Linked DNA regions of Homo sapiens: region 1 is linked to region 2. Evidence: promoter capture Hi-C in 16 types of primary human blood cells and fetal thymus (Javierre and others, 2016). All regions are on one chromosome and are shown on one strand. Each heading gives the region's core, a stretch centred on a gene start or on the middle of the fragment in contact. The rest is flanking DNA. Distances are from core to core; before and after follow the strand shown. Region 1 holds the start of KLHL15 (kelch like family member 15). Region 2 has its middle 7.2 kb from the start of PDK3.

The links. The method cuts DNA at HindIII sites, captures the fragments that hold promoters and counts their contacts. A CHiCAGO score of 5 or more calls a contact.
Region 1: a contact is called between the fragment with the promoter of KLHL15 here and a fragment that was not itself captured in region 2, in 1 of 17 cell types (activated CD4 T cells). The highest score is 5.1, in activated CD4 T cells.

The regions. Positions count from the first base shown.
Region 1 is chrX:24,022,106-24,028,674 of GRCh38, reverse strand. It overlaps KLHL15 (kelch like family member 15), which reads left to right and starts at 1,489. Exons shown (of 4, transcript NM_030624.3): 1 at 1,489-1,535; 2 at 3,617-3,818. RefSeq lists enhancers at 410-909, 2,117-2,620, 2,621-3,125 and silencers at 2,788-2,887, 2,898-3,337, 3,418-3,487, 3,498-3,647, 3,658-3,737. The HindIII fragment of the contact is 3,234 bases long and covers 1-1,865 here.
Region 2 is chrX:24,454,855-24,461,227 of GRCh38, reverse strand. No RefSeq gene overlaps it. Among named protein-coding and RNA genes, the nearest start is that of PDK3, 7.2 kb to the left of the region's middle. The HindIII fragment of the contact is 1,133 bases long and covers 2,918-4,050 here.

The sequences.
Region 1 (6,569 bases), core at 240-2,739, 430 kb after region 2:
GTAAAAAGAAAAGTGATTACCAAGACAACTACCACAGACTGGGAATTTCTGAAAAGCCTCAACTTTTCTTTTCTTTTTTTTTTTTTTGAGACAGCGTCTAGTTCCGTTGTCCAGGCTGGAGTGCAGTGGTGCAATCTCGACTCACTGCAACCTCTGCCTCCTGGGCTCAAGCCATACTCCTACCTCAGCCTCCTGAGTAGCTGGGACCGCAGGCCCGCACCACCATGCCAGCTAATTTTTTGTATTTTTAATAGAGACGGGGTTTCACTATGTTCGTCAGGCTGGTTTCCAACTCCTGACCTCTAATGATCCTTCCGCCTCGGCCTCCCAAAGTGCTGGAATTACAGGCGTGAGCCACCACGCCTGGCCTCAATTTCTTAAAAAGCAAAAACAGGAGGGAGGAGGAGGGTATGCAGTATCCTAAATCCTCAGAACCCCTGGGGAAGAACCTCATTCCAACTCCACCAGCACTCCCAGGCCCAGGCTTCTAGCATGCTTCCGACCTCGCTAGCTGCTAAATAAATAGCTATTGAGGAATGTGTATTCTCAAATACTTAGGCTAGAGGGCTAAGAAAAGACAGCTTCCATCTACCTCTGTGGGACTCTACCAGTGTGAAAGGATACTCTCAAGGTATTTAACAACTCCCATTACAGTCCAGAAATTGGTGGGGAAAGTTAAAATATATTTTCTTTTCTTTTTTTTTTTTGAGACGGTGTTTTTGCTCTGTTGCCTGAGCTGGAGTGCAGTGGCTCACGCTTGTAATCCCAGCACTTTGGGAGGCCAAGGCGGGCGATCATGAGGTCGGGGGTTTGAGACCAGCCTAGCCAACACAGTGAAACCCCGTCTCTACTAAAAATACAAAAGTTAGCTGGGCACGGTGGCGAGCGCCTGTAATCCCAGCTACTCGGGAGGCTGAGGCAGGATAATCGCTTGAACCCGGGAGGCGGAGGTTGCAGTCAGCCGAGATCCACTGCACCCCAGCCTGAGCGACAGACTCCATCTCAGAAAAAAACAAGCAAACAAAAACAAAACAAACAAACAAACAAAAACAAGAAAAGAAAAGTTAGCCGAGCATGGTGGGGCACGTCTGTGGTCCTAGCTATTCGGGAGGCTGAGGTGGAAGGATTGCTTGAGCCCGGGAGGTCAAGGCTGCAGTGAGCTGAGATCATGCCTCTGCCCTCCAGCCTGGCCGAGAGTGAGACTGTCTCAAAAAAAAAATAATAATAATAACATAAAAATAAGAAATAAGAGTGAAAGAGGCATCATTGATTGAAGATAACTTGGGGAGGGGTTCATATAGTAAACGTATAGATTGATTGAAAGACACAGCCCAGTTTTAAAACTACATAAATATCCAAAAAAGCACATTTGAAATTCCACGAGACCTTGCAATGTCAAAATAAGGAGGGACGGGAAGCACGGTGATCACACAATGGCTTATGACATACACTCACTACATTTATACCTGGTACAAAGAGCGCAGAAACGTTTCAACTCTTGCTTGAATCAAGAACAGAAGCCTCTCTTTAGACAGGTCAGTGCCACATAGTAATGTATAGCTTAAAATGTTAGTTAATGTACAAAAATCCAAACTCAGCGTTTAGATGTTCGGGAATAATGCATGAACATTTAAATATTCAGAAGTGGAATGTATGCATTTTTAAAGTTTATTTTATGATTTAATTTTAAAAATTTGTTTTAATGTGAAATTCTGGGGTAATTTGTCATGTAGTAATAGATACAAATATGGCAAGCAGGGATTTTTAAATAATGAACAGAAATATCTTAAAGGAGCTATTGGAAAAGATGGAAAGAAAGTGTGAACAACTTGGGAATTTCAGTGTCTTACAGTTTTTTTAAAGCTTGTTATAGTTTAAATCGGAATAAGGAAGCGTATTTCCAAAAGATTGAAGTGATTGTGTTATCTCTCCCACGAAGTAGTCTACTTCAGCAAAACAGTACACCGTGTGCTATTTTGGCCTCTTGGGAAAGATGGTATGTTCAAGTTTGCTAGAAAGAGATAATTATCGCTTTTAGCGACACCTCTCACGGAAAGTTCATCGGGATATTGGTCTAGAGAGAAAATGGCGGCGGGGGGTGGGGGTGGGGGAAGCCGAAATACCTCAGTTTAGGATCTGCTATGGGCAATGGATGCCCTAATTTAAGGTTAATTGTAGATCCACGGGCTTCCAACTGTGTATTTCCGTCATCTACACTTTTCCCAGAAAGAGATGCCATAATAAATTTACAAAACAGTCCTATAGTCTAGTTTTATATTCTTGTCAAGAAAAGGTAATATTTAAAAAGTACTAGCTAGAATTCTATAAAAAACGAACAACAAAAATCACTGCCCTCTGAATGTTCGTTCTTGATTATTTTGACGCAAGTAGAGACAGCTTTTTTAAATCCGGCATTATCTCCGGGTGGTGCAGACATGCAATTTTTTATGAATTTTCCCACCCTTGGGAAATCGATTTCTGAAACGTGTAATTGTTGTGCAGTAAGCCAAGTGGACAGTGACGCAATAGTCCACTGCAAGTTGCCTTACAAAAAATGATGTCATTTGGCGCAGATCTAGTCACTTTTATAACAGGTAGCTATGGAAAAGCTCCCTCCACGTTGTCCCCGATTCCCCCACCCCCACCGTGGCCAAGATGCAAAAAGACACTTTCCTGGCTTCCTAGCCCTCAACTTGTCGAGGGTGGGCGCACCGCAGTGGCTCAGGGCCCATCGCTCGTGCAGGCGGAGAGAGACCGCTGCAAGGGGACGAGGACAGCTGAGTGTCCTCAGCCCCGACGGCGGCGCCGCGGGGGAAGCTGCGTCGGGCCCAGTCCAGGGCCGCGACGCCCGGCCGCCTGTTTTCCTCGGTGGGAAACCGCTGGCGTGGCGGGCCGGCAGCCGGGACGCGGGGCGCCGCGGGCGCGGGACAGCCTTCCCCGCCCCCCCTTCCCCCCCGTTCCCACACCCGCTCCCGCTCCCGTGGCGCCGGAAGTGACGCGTTTTGGGCTGAAAGATGGCGGCATTGGCGCTCGACCAGGGGGAAGGTAAACACCCGCCAGGCCACGGGCTGGCCCCCTCGGGGCGCCAGCAGGGGCCGAGGGGGGGGCCTCCCGGGCCAGCTCCCCGCCCCCAACGGCTTCCCACCCTCCGCCCTCTCTCCCAGCGTGGCGGCCTTCCGCGTCAAGACGACAGCGCACTGGGCCCCCTGCCGGCCAGCCCCGCCTCCCTGGGCGGGCCCCGGGCGGCTCCCGCGGCCCGCAGGGGGCGCGCGGCCCGGAGCGGCCCCCGGCTCGTGGCCCCGCACGCCCCGCCCCTTCCCCGCCCCTTTCCCGCCTTCCTCCACCCCCGGCGTGGGTGATCCCGAGGCTCGGCGCGCTTCGGGGCAGAAGCCCAGAGACGCCGTCCTCGACGCTTCCTCGGCTGGTGCTTCTGTCTCTGCCTGCTGCCCCCCAGCCCTTTTCCCCGCCCGCGGCCCCAGTCGGCCCTCCCGCCGAGCCCCGTCGGGTGCTGCGAGGCCCCCGGCGTTGGCAAGGTCGGTCCGGGCCCCGACGCCGCGCCGCCTCGTGCGGAGCCCGACTGTCTGGTTTCTCGACTCAGCGCTGTCTTCTTTCCCAGGACTTATCCAGAGGGGGCTGCAGGCGAGCACTCTCGTGCCCCGCCGGAGCGACCCGGCTCGTGCCGGGAGCGGCTGCTCGTAGACGTCCGAGGAGCCTGCCGAGTGCCGTCCCGGCGCCCGACCGCCCACCCATCGGCCCGCTGGCCCGGTTCTTCCTGATGCAGACTGCCGTCCACTAGAGGCTGGACAGGACCCCCCGAGGTACGTAGCCGCCCCTGGCCGCCGGCCTGCGGAGCCCGGGCTTCGCCCGCGGCCCCGAGCTAGGCACGAATTCGCCGGCCCTCTCTGCACGGACCCGAGTCAAACATTTGGTAGACGCCGGGACCTCGTTTGTCTTCGAGTTTACTTAAATTGTTTGAAATGTAATTTTTTTTTCCAGAGAGAGCGAGAAAGAAAAAGGAAGAAGCATAATTCAGCCATTTTTTGCAGCACACAGCTGCAGGTACCATGATTATTTTTTGCCTAACCCGTTCCTTCCCTTTAACAATTCAATTTATGCCTGAAATAGAACTATGCAAAATGCGAGGCATAAAACTAGGAATCGGAAGGTCTGGGTTCGACTTGGGTGACTCTGAGAAAAAATCGCGTACCGAGCCTTGGTTTCTTATCTATGAAATATAGTCGGTACTACCAACATCGCAGGGTTGAGAGGACTATATGAGGTCATATATGTGAAAATAATCCTTAACTGTAGAGTGTTGTAAGAATGCAAGGCCGTTTTTTAAGTAACCTTTGGTAGAGTGGTTAATGTAGTGGCTAACTGTTGCTGCCTCTTTATTTCTATATTATAAATATAAGCAAATAAGTACGGAATAATAGTAAAGCAGTGCTGTGAATCCATAGATCTGTAATAGTCACGTTGCTTGGCCTTCCTCCTACGAAGTGCTAACTGCTTATTTAAATAACGGTATTCTTTAATTCAAATGTAACGTTACCGTAGGGGCTTTGCTTTTCATCGTTCTAGGCCGCTTTAGGCCCCTTTTCTTACTCCAAATATTTAACACCTTACATTTGTTAGTCTTTTCTGTTTTCCGAATTTGTTTGCCTTTGTTAATCTGATTAAGTGGTAATTTAGAAAATGCTTTGCAGACATATATGCCCTAATTTTAATGCCTGTTTTTCATATCTAGGGAGCAGGATGCTTGAATACTTCTACTAATTTGAAAATTGGTTTTGAAGAGCTTATCAATGCATTCATGTTTCAGTAATCCTTAATAGATCTAGAAATGTATAGAACATTTCAACTTTTTAGCACTTAATGTAATTATATAATTTTATTCTCATTTTTAATCACAACACGTAGTAGGTGCTTAGAGTCACAGTTTATCAGTGGTAGAGGATGTTAACTTGCACTCTTCATTGCTGATTAATTTGGGGAAAGAATAGGATAGTAAATATTTGTGGTTTGAAAATTGAATTTATTTTGCCAGGATTTATATGTGTAACAGATTAGTATTGATCATTTTTACTTGGCATATCAAAAATATAGTATGGTTTGGCTTAAATGGTCCACAAAAAGTGAAAAGAGAAGCATTTTTGGGTATATTGTTATTTTTAGCTAACAAATGGTTTTGAGTAGTTAGATGTTTTATTAAATTTATAATCCTCTAGTCCAATACCAGTTGTCTTTCAGAGTATGCTTTTGTGTTTTGTAAAAAGGCAAAATAATAGAAGTTGGGCAGGATTTACATAGTAAAAGGAAGAGCCTACTTCAAAGTGGCTGGTTTTATAGATTGGATTTATCACTAATCTTGATAAAATTTTGACAAATCATTGCTTTATTGGGGATTTCAAGGTTTGACCTTCTCTCTACCTCGAGTCGGGTTATCTCAGAAACCTAACCTTGATCAGGGCAGGCTTGGCTTCATGGATGTTCAGAAGGGCCCCACACTTGGTTTAATAATCTGCATGTAAAACTGGGATTGTACAGTATAAGGGTGAATGGTAAAATTCATGCTAATTTAAATTTTTAATTTTCCTTTACTCAGAACGACATTAAACATCAAATTTAAAAAACACTGAGAGCCGGGAGCGGTGGCTCAGGCCTGTAATCCCAGCACTTTGGGAGGCCGAGGCGGGCGGATCACCTGAGGGTCGGGAGTTTGAGACCAGCCTAACCAACGTGGAGAAACCCCGTCTCTACTAAAAACACAAAGTTAGCCTGGCGTGGTGGCGGGCGCCTGTAATCCCAGCTACTCTATTCCCAGCTACTCGGGAGGCTGAGGCGGGAGAATCGCTTGAACCCGGTAGGCAGAAGTTGCGGTAATCCAAGATGGCGGCACTGCACTCCAGCCTGGGCGACGAGAGCAAAACTCCGTCTCAAAAAAAAAAAAAACCGCGAAACAGTTGAGAGATACAGAAGAAAGTTTTGAAAGAGCTTTACATTTTATTACCTTTAACGACTTTTTTTTTTTTTTTAAGACAAGAGTCTTGTTCTGTCGCCCAGGCTGGAGTGGAGTGGTGCGATCCGATCCCCGCTCATTGGAACCTCCACCTCCCGGCCTCAAGCGATTCTTGGGCCTCAGCCTACTAAGTAGCTGGGATTATAGGCGCTCGCCACCACGCCCGGCTAATTTTTGTATTTTTAGTAGAGACGGGGTTTCACCATGTTGGCCAGGCTGGTCTCGAACTCCTGGACTCAAGTGATCTACCCGCCTTGGCTTCCCAAAGCGCAGGCGGGAGCCACCGTGCCCAGCCTTTTTTTTTTTTTTTTTTTATCTTTTGAGACACAGTCTTGCTCTGTCTCCCAGGCCGGAGTGCAGTGGCGCGATCTCGGCTCACTGCAACCTCCGCCTCCCGGGTTCAAGTGATTCTCCTGCCTCAGCCTCCCGAGTAACTGGGATTACAGATGCGCGTCAGCATGCTTGACTAATTTTTGTATTTTTAGTAGACACGGGGTTTCACCATGTTAGCCAGGCTGGTCTCGACTGACTTCAAGTGATCCGCCCGCCT
Region 2 (6,373 bases), core at 2,235-4,734:
GTTCTATAGCACTGTAGGGTGACTATAGTTAAAAACAATGTATTATATAGTTTCAAATAGTTAGAAGGAGAATATTGAAGTTCCCAACACAAGGAAATGGTAAATGTTTGAGATGATGAATATGCTAATTACCCTGATCTGATCACTGTATAACCTCATGAATATGTACAATTATTATTTCTCATTTAAAAATATAACTAGAAATTTAAAAAATAGGCCGGGCGCGGTGGCTCATGCCTGTAATCCCAACACTTTGGGACGCTGAGGCAGGCGGATCACCTGAGGTCAGGAGTTCAAGACCAGCCTGGCCAACATGGTGAAACCCCGTCTGTACTAAAAATAAAAAAATTAGCCAGGCGTGATGGTGGGTGCCTGTAATCCCAGGTACTTGGGAGGCTGAGGCAGAAGAATCGCTTGAACCCTGGAGGCGGAGGTTGCAATGAGCCAAGTTCGCGCTATTGCACTCCAGCCTGGGCGACAGAGTGAGACTCTGTCTCAAAAAAAAAAAAAAGGAATTTAAAAAATAAAGTCAATATAGGCAATCATTCTAGCTAAAAGGAATAAAATATTCTAAAACAAATGGACAAAGGGATATTAGGTAAAACTAAGAAATTCTGAATAAAGTATAGACTTTGGCCCAAATTTGTTTAATAATAATGTATCAATATTGGTTCCTGAATTATAGCAAATGTACTATACTAATGCTCCCTGCCTCCCTACCTCTCTCCCTCCCCCCACCTCTCTCTCTCTCAGTCTCTGTCTCTCTCTCTCTCTCCTATGATACTCCCCTTGTGGAGCCTTGAGATGACAAAGCTCTAGCCAACACCTTGATTGACACCTCATTGTAACCTTGAGAGACACCTCATTGTAACCTTGAGAGAGACCCTGAGTCAGAACCACTCAACTAAGCAGCTCCCGGACTCCTCACCCCGAGAAATCCTCAGTTTGTTGTAATAAGTGTTTGTGGTTTCCAGCTGCTAAGTTTCTGGATAATTCGTTACACAGCAATAGTTAACTAATATGCAAGCCCTCCAGGTAATTCTTTTTTTTTTTTTTTTTGAGACAGACTCACTCTGTCACCCAGGCTGGAGTGCAGTGGCATGATCTCAGCTCATTGCAACCTCTGCCTCCCAGGTTCAAGCAATTCTCGTGCCTCAGCCTCCTGAGTAGCTGGGATTACAGGTGTGCACCACCACGCCTAGCTAATTTTTTGTATTTTTAGTAGACACAGGGTTTCGCCATGTTGCCCAGGCTGGTCTCGAACTCCTGAGCTCGGGCAATCTGCCCACCTCCACCTCCCAAAATGCTAGGATTACAGGCATGAGGCACCGCGCCCGGCCACCTGAGGGTAATTCTGATGCACCTCAGTGTGAAAATCAGTGTCCTCCCCTAACCTACTCTAACCTAACTCTCTATTCCTTCCAGCTAATGCCTCAGATCTCAGTGTAATCATCACTTAAACATAAAGGGAGGCCTTCCCTGACCATAAAGTCAATTCCTTCTCCTTGCCATATGTTTTCTCGATTCGCTCTACTTCCCACTGTAACTCTCCAAACGCTTTGTTATAGTTTGATCAATGCCTGTCTTCTACACTAGACTTAAGCCTTGGCAGGGCTGGGACCAAGTCTGGTGTACTCACTGCTGCATCCCCAGTGCCCAGCATAACTAACAGTCACTGTTCAGGTTCACAACAAACATGTATTAAATACATAAAAATCAACAAAAATAACAACCAAACCTATCCCAAATCGCACTCCTTCTAAAAGCTGCTATAGAACACTAGAACTAGGCAAAGGTAGTTTTCTGAGTAATTTAAATAATAATGGACACTTTATTAAATCATAATATGATGCAGCCAAAATCCAAAGTAGAGTGGAATAGATGAGAAAAAAAGATCTATCTCCCTAACTAGTGGATCTTGTTACAAAATACCTCTGTCACCATTTGACAGGGGTATAATATCCTGCTCTCCTTGTATTTTCTTCCTCCTTCTCTCTTCTCAGTTAATGTTTTTTTGAGCACCTATTGTGTGCTATGTGAAAGCACTTATGTTGTCTCTTCACAGTGAGTATGATGGATGAATATTATCCTCATTTTACAGGTGAGTGAGCTAAGACACAGAAAGGTTAAAATAATTTAAGTTTATACAACTTGTAAATGGCAGTCTGGGTTTGAATCCAGGTCTCCTGGCTCTCAATTCGATGTTCTTTCATAATACCAGCCTGCCTTTTTAAAACAAAATAGACTTTATTTTTAAAGAATTTTTAGGTTCGCAGCAAAATTCAATGGAAAACACAGGGAATTCCCACATATCCCCCTGAGACACACATCCTCTTCCACCATCAACATCCCCTACCAGACTGGTACATTTATTACAATCAAGGGACCCATATTAACACATCATTATCATCCAAAGTCCATAGTTTACATTAGGATTCACTCTTACTGTTGTACATTTTGTGGGTTTGGACAAATGTATAATGACAAGTATCCACCACTATAGTATCAAACAGAATAGTTTCGCTGTCCTAAAACTCCTCTCTGTTCTGCCTATTCAACCCTCCCTTTCTTCTGACCCCTGGAAACCACTGATCTTTTCACTGTCTCTAATTTTGCCTTTTCCAGAATGTCATATAGTTGGAATCCTGCAGGATGTGGCTTTTTCAGACTGGCTTCTTTCACGTCACCATATGCATTTAAAGTTTCTCAGTGTCTTTTCATGGCTTGATAGTTCATTTCTTTTTAGGGCTAAATAATATTTCACCATGTTGGTTTTATCACAGTTTATTATTAATTCACCTACTGAAGGATGTCTTGGTTGATTCCAAGATTTGCCAGGCACCTTTCGATTTTAAGAGTGGGAAGTGAGATGGTGAAAATAAGTGAACTGGTGGATCAAGGGTTACTTAATAAAGCTTTACTAAATGTACATCTTTAATCAAATATGTGTATGACTTGAAGGAGTAGCTCTTTTCTCCCGTGTCTAGATTCTAGATTTTTGAATTTTTTAATTCTTATGGATGTATAATAGCTGTATGTACTTATGGGGTAGGCTTTTTTCAGCAAACTCTTTTAGATGGCACAAATCCTCTTGAAGCCCTGTTTATCCTGGTCCTTTTGTTTCTAATTAAGGGGTTTCAGCCTTTATATTCCTCCAAAAGAGGTCAGAAAAGAATTTTTTGTTTGTTTGTTTGTTTGTTTGTTTGAGATGGAGTCTCGCTCTGTCGCCCAGGCTGGAGTGCAGTGGTGCGATCTCGGTTCACTGCAACCTCCACCTCCCAGGTTCAAGCGATTCTCCTGCCTCAGCCTCCCAAATAGCTGGGATTACAGGCGCATGCCACTGTGCCTGGCTAATTTTTTTCTTTTTTTCTTTTTCTTTTTTTTTTTGTATTTTTAGTAGAGATGGGGTTTCACCATGTTGGCCAGGCTGGTCTTGAACTCCTGATCTCAGGTGATCCATCCGCCTCGGCCTCCTAAAGTGCTGGGATTACAGGCATGAGCCACCACGCCTGGCCAGAAAAGATTTTAAGTACAGGGATGATGTGACAGGATAATTTATTGAGAAATTAAATCTATGTTTTGATTTTGCTGCTCTTGGAGGTGCAGAAGAAAGGAGTCGCTTATCTTCCCCAGCCTAAAAGACAGTGGAGTCTTTGGCTCCGGGTTTTGGGCTGCTATGCCTTGACGATATCATTAGCTGCTTATGTGCAATGGGGTGCTTTGGTTTCTACGACTGAAAACAGAAGTTGGAAAATATAGGAGATATTTTGGTTACCTCTATAAAATCCATTCCTTCTTCTATTGGTAACTACTCCCACTTTTGTTCACTCCCCCAGGCAGTTCATTTGTGCCTTGGGAAGAAAATAGCCCACCTCAGCTGTAGTCATGATATATATGGGTCAATCTACAAACTAATGAGCTTAATTCTGATTGCTGGCCATGGCTCCTGGTTCAAGGATAGATACTTGACCCAATTTAGGCCAATGATATAGGAGGAGACATTTCCTGGGAGCTTCTGTGAAAGAAACTTGCTGCTATTCTCAGGAAGCTTCTAGAAGCATCTCTCTCAACCTCTCACTTTTCTTCTTCTCTCTTCCTACCTCATTCCCATCTCTGGGTGCAATCAAGGAAGCATGTAGTACCTGGAGTGCAGTAGACAACCATTTTGTGGCCAGAGTGAAGCTGACTTTGCAGAAAGCAGAGCAGAAATGGGAAGAAACTGGGTCCTCAATAACGTTGTCAGGGCACTAAATCAATCCAACCTGAAACCTTCTCTGAACTTCCAGTTACATGGGCCAGTACATTTTTATGGTTTAGGCCACCTTAAGCAGATTGATATTACTAGAGTCAAAACTGTCACAGGGCTGGGAGCAGTGGCTCACGCCTGTAATCCCAACACTTTGGGAGGCCAAGGCAAGTGGATTGCTTGAGCCCAGGAGTTCGAGACCAGCCTGGGCAACATGGCAAAACCCCATCTCTACTAAAAATACAAAAATTAGCTGGGCATGGTGGCACCCACCTACTACTGAGGAGGCCGAGTGGGGAGGATCATCTGAGCTGGAGAGGTTGAGGCTGCAGTGAGCTGTGATCTCGCCACTGTACTCCAGCCTAAGCGACAGAGCAAGACCCCATCTCAAAATAAAAACTAAAAAAGTATCCTAACTTTCATGCCAAGCATACTTCAGGTATCCTGTATATACACATGGGGACAAGCCCCCCAGTAATGGCTGCTGTTGGGCATCTTGCCAGCTCTGCACGTGGGAACGCAAACCCAGATTTAATTTGATTTTTTAAAATAAAGAAAGATAATGTTTCTTGTGCCCAGGGGTTATGAACAAAATCAGATCCTATAATACCCAGAAGGGAAACAATAACAGAGGATGGTTAAATAAATCATGGCACACATACAATGAACCATTATACTGTCTTTAAAGGTTCTTTGTATGAAGTCTATATGAGAACACGGAAAATACAAACATTATAATAAGAGGGAAAAAGGAAGATACTAAATTATGTATTAAATCTGAGCTTCAGGCAGGGCTCAGTGGCTCATGCCTGTAATCCCAGCACTTTGGAAGGCGGAGGCGAGCGGATCACTTGAGCCCAGGAGTTCGTGACCAGCCTAGGCAACGTGACAAAACCCCATCCCTACAAAAAACAAAAACAAAAAAATCAGCCAGGCCTGGCGACTTACACCTACAGTCCCAGCTACTTGGGAAGCTGAGGTAGGAGGATGGATTGAGCTCAGGAGATCGAGGCTACAGTGAGACAAGATCACGCCACTGCACCCCAGTCTGGGTGACAGAGTGAGACCCTGTCTCTAAATAAATAAATAAATACATAAATAAACTGAGCTTAGCTAGGAAGAGATCACCTAAACCTTTTTTATCGAAAGGTACAGAAGGAAATACAGCAAAATGCCAACAAAACAACCACCACTAATGAATGCCTTGAGTGATATCATGGTTTGATTTGACATTGAGAAAATCCTTAGAATCCCTGGGTGGCAATGTGTTCTAAAAATCTGAACCAAGGATAGGTAACATGAATGACTTTATTCAGTTCTCCTTCAACCCAAAAGATGAAGGTTAGTTATACAGAGACTTGTCAGAATCCACTGCTCTTCTGTTTTTATCCAAAACATGATCTTATCTGTTTCTATGAATATTTACTTAGTCCCATAATTAACAGAGCATGAACCATTATTTGCAGAGGACTCTGACATCTGAGGTGCCACCTATTATCTAGAAAACTTGGCATTTCTTCCATCAGCATTTAGTAAAGCCTTCTTTCATCCAAGCTGTTTGCCAAAGTACAGCCCTTACCCCCACCCCCAACCATCACAACCACCACCAGCCTCCAAATTGCTGTGATTTCCATCAGGGAGGGTTGTGTAGCTACCAGGAGGACCTCTTCCCTAGGCCACCAGGGTCTTATTGTCAGCCCCAGCTGTTTTCACCTTGGCCCCTCCACTTGATCTCATTTTTCTGGAGGTATTAAAGTTTTGAGAAAAAGAAAAACAGGCCAGGCGCGGTGGCTCATGCCTGTAATCCCAGCACTTTGGGAGGTCGAGGCGAGAGGATCACTTGAAGCTAGGCCAGCCTGGCCAACATGGTGAAACCTCATTTCTACTAAAAATACAAAAACTAGCCAGGCGGTGTTGCGTGCCTGTAATCCCAGGTACTCGGGAGGCTGAGCCAGGAGAATCGCTTGAACCCAGGAGGTGGAGGTTGCAGTGAGCCGAGATCATGCCACAGCACTCCAGCCTGGGCAACAGAGCAAGACTTCGTCTCAAAAAAAAAAAAGAAAGAAAGAAAGAGAAAAACAGCCATTCTTCACAAGGAATTTAGGGATTCCTATTCAAGAATAATTT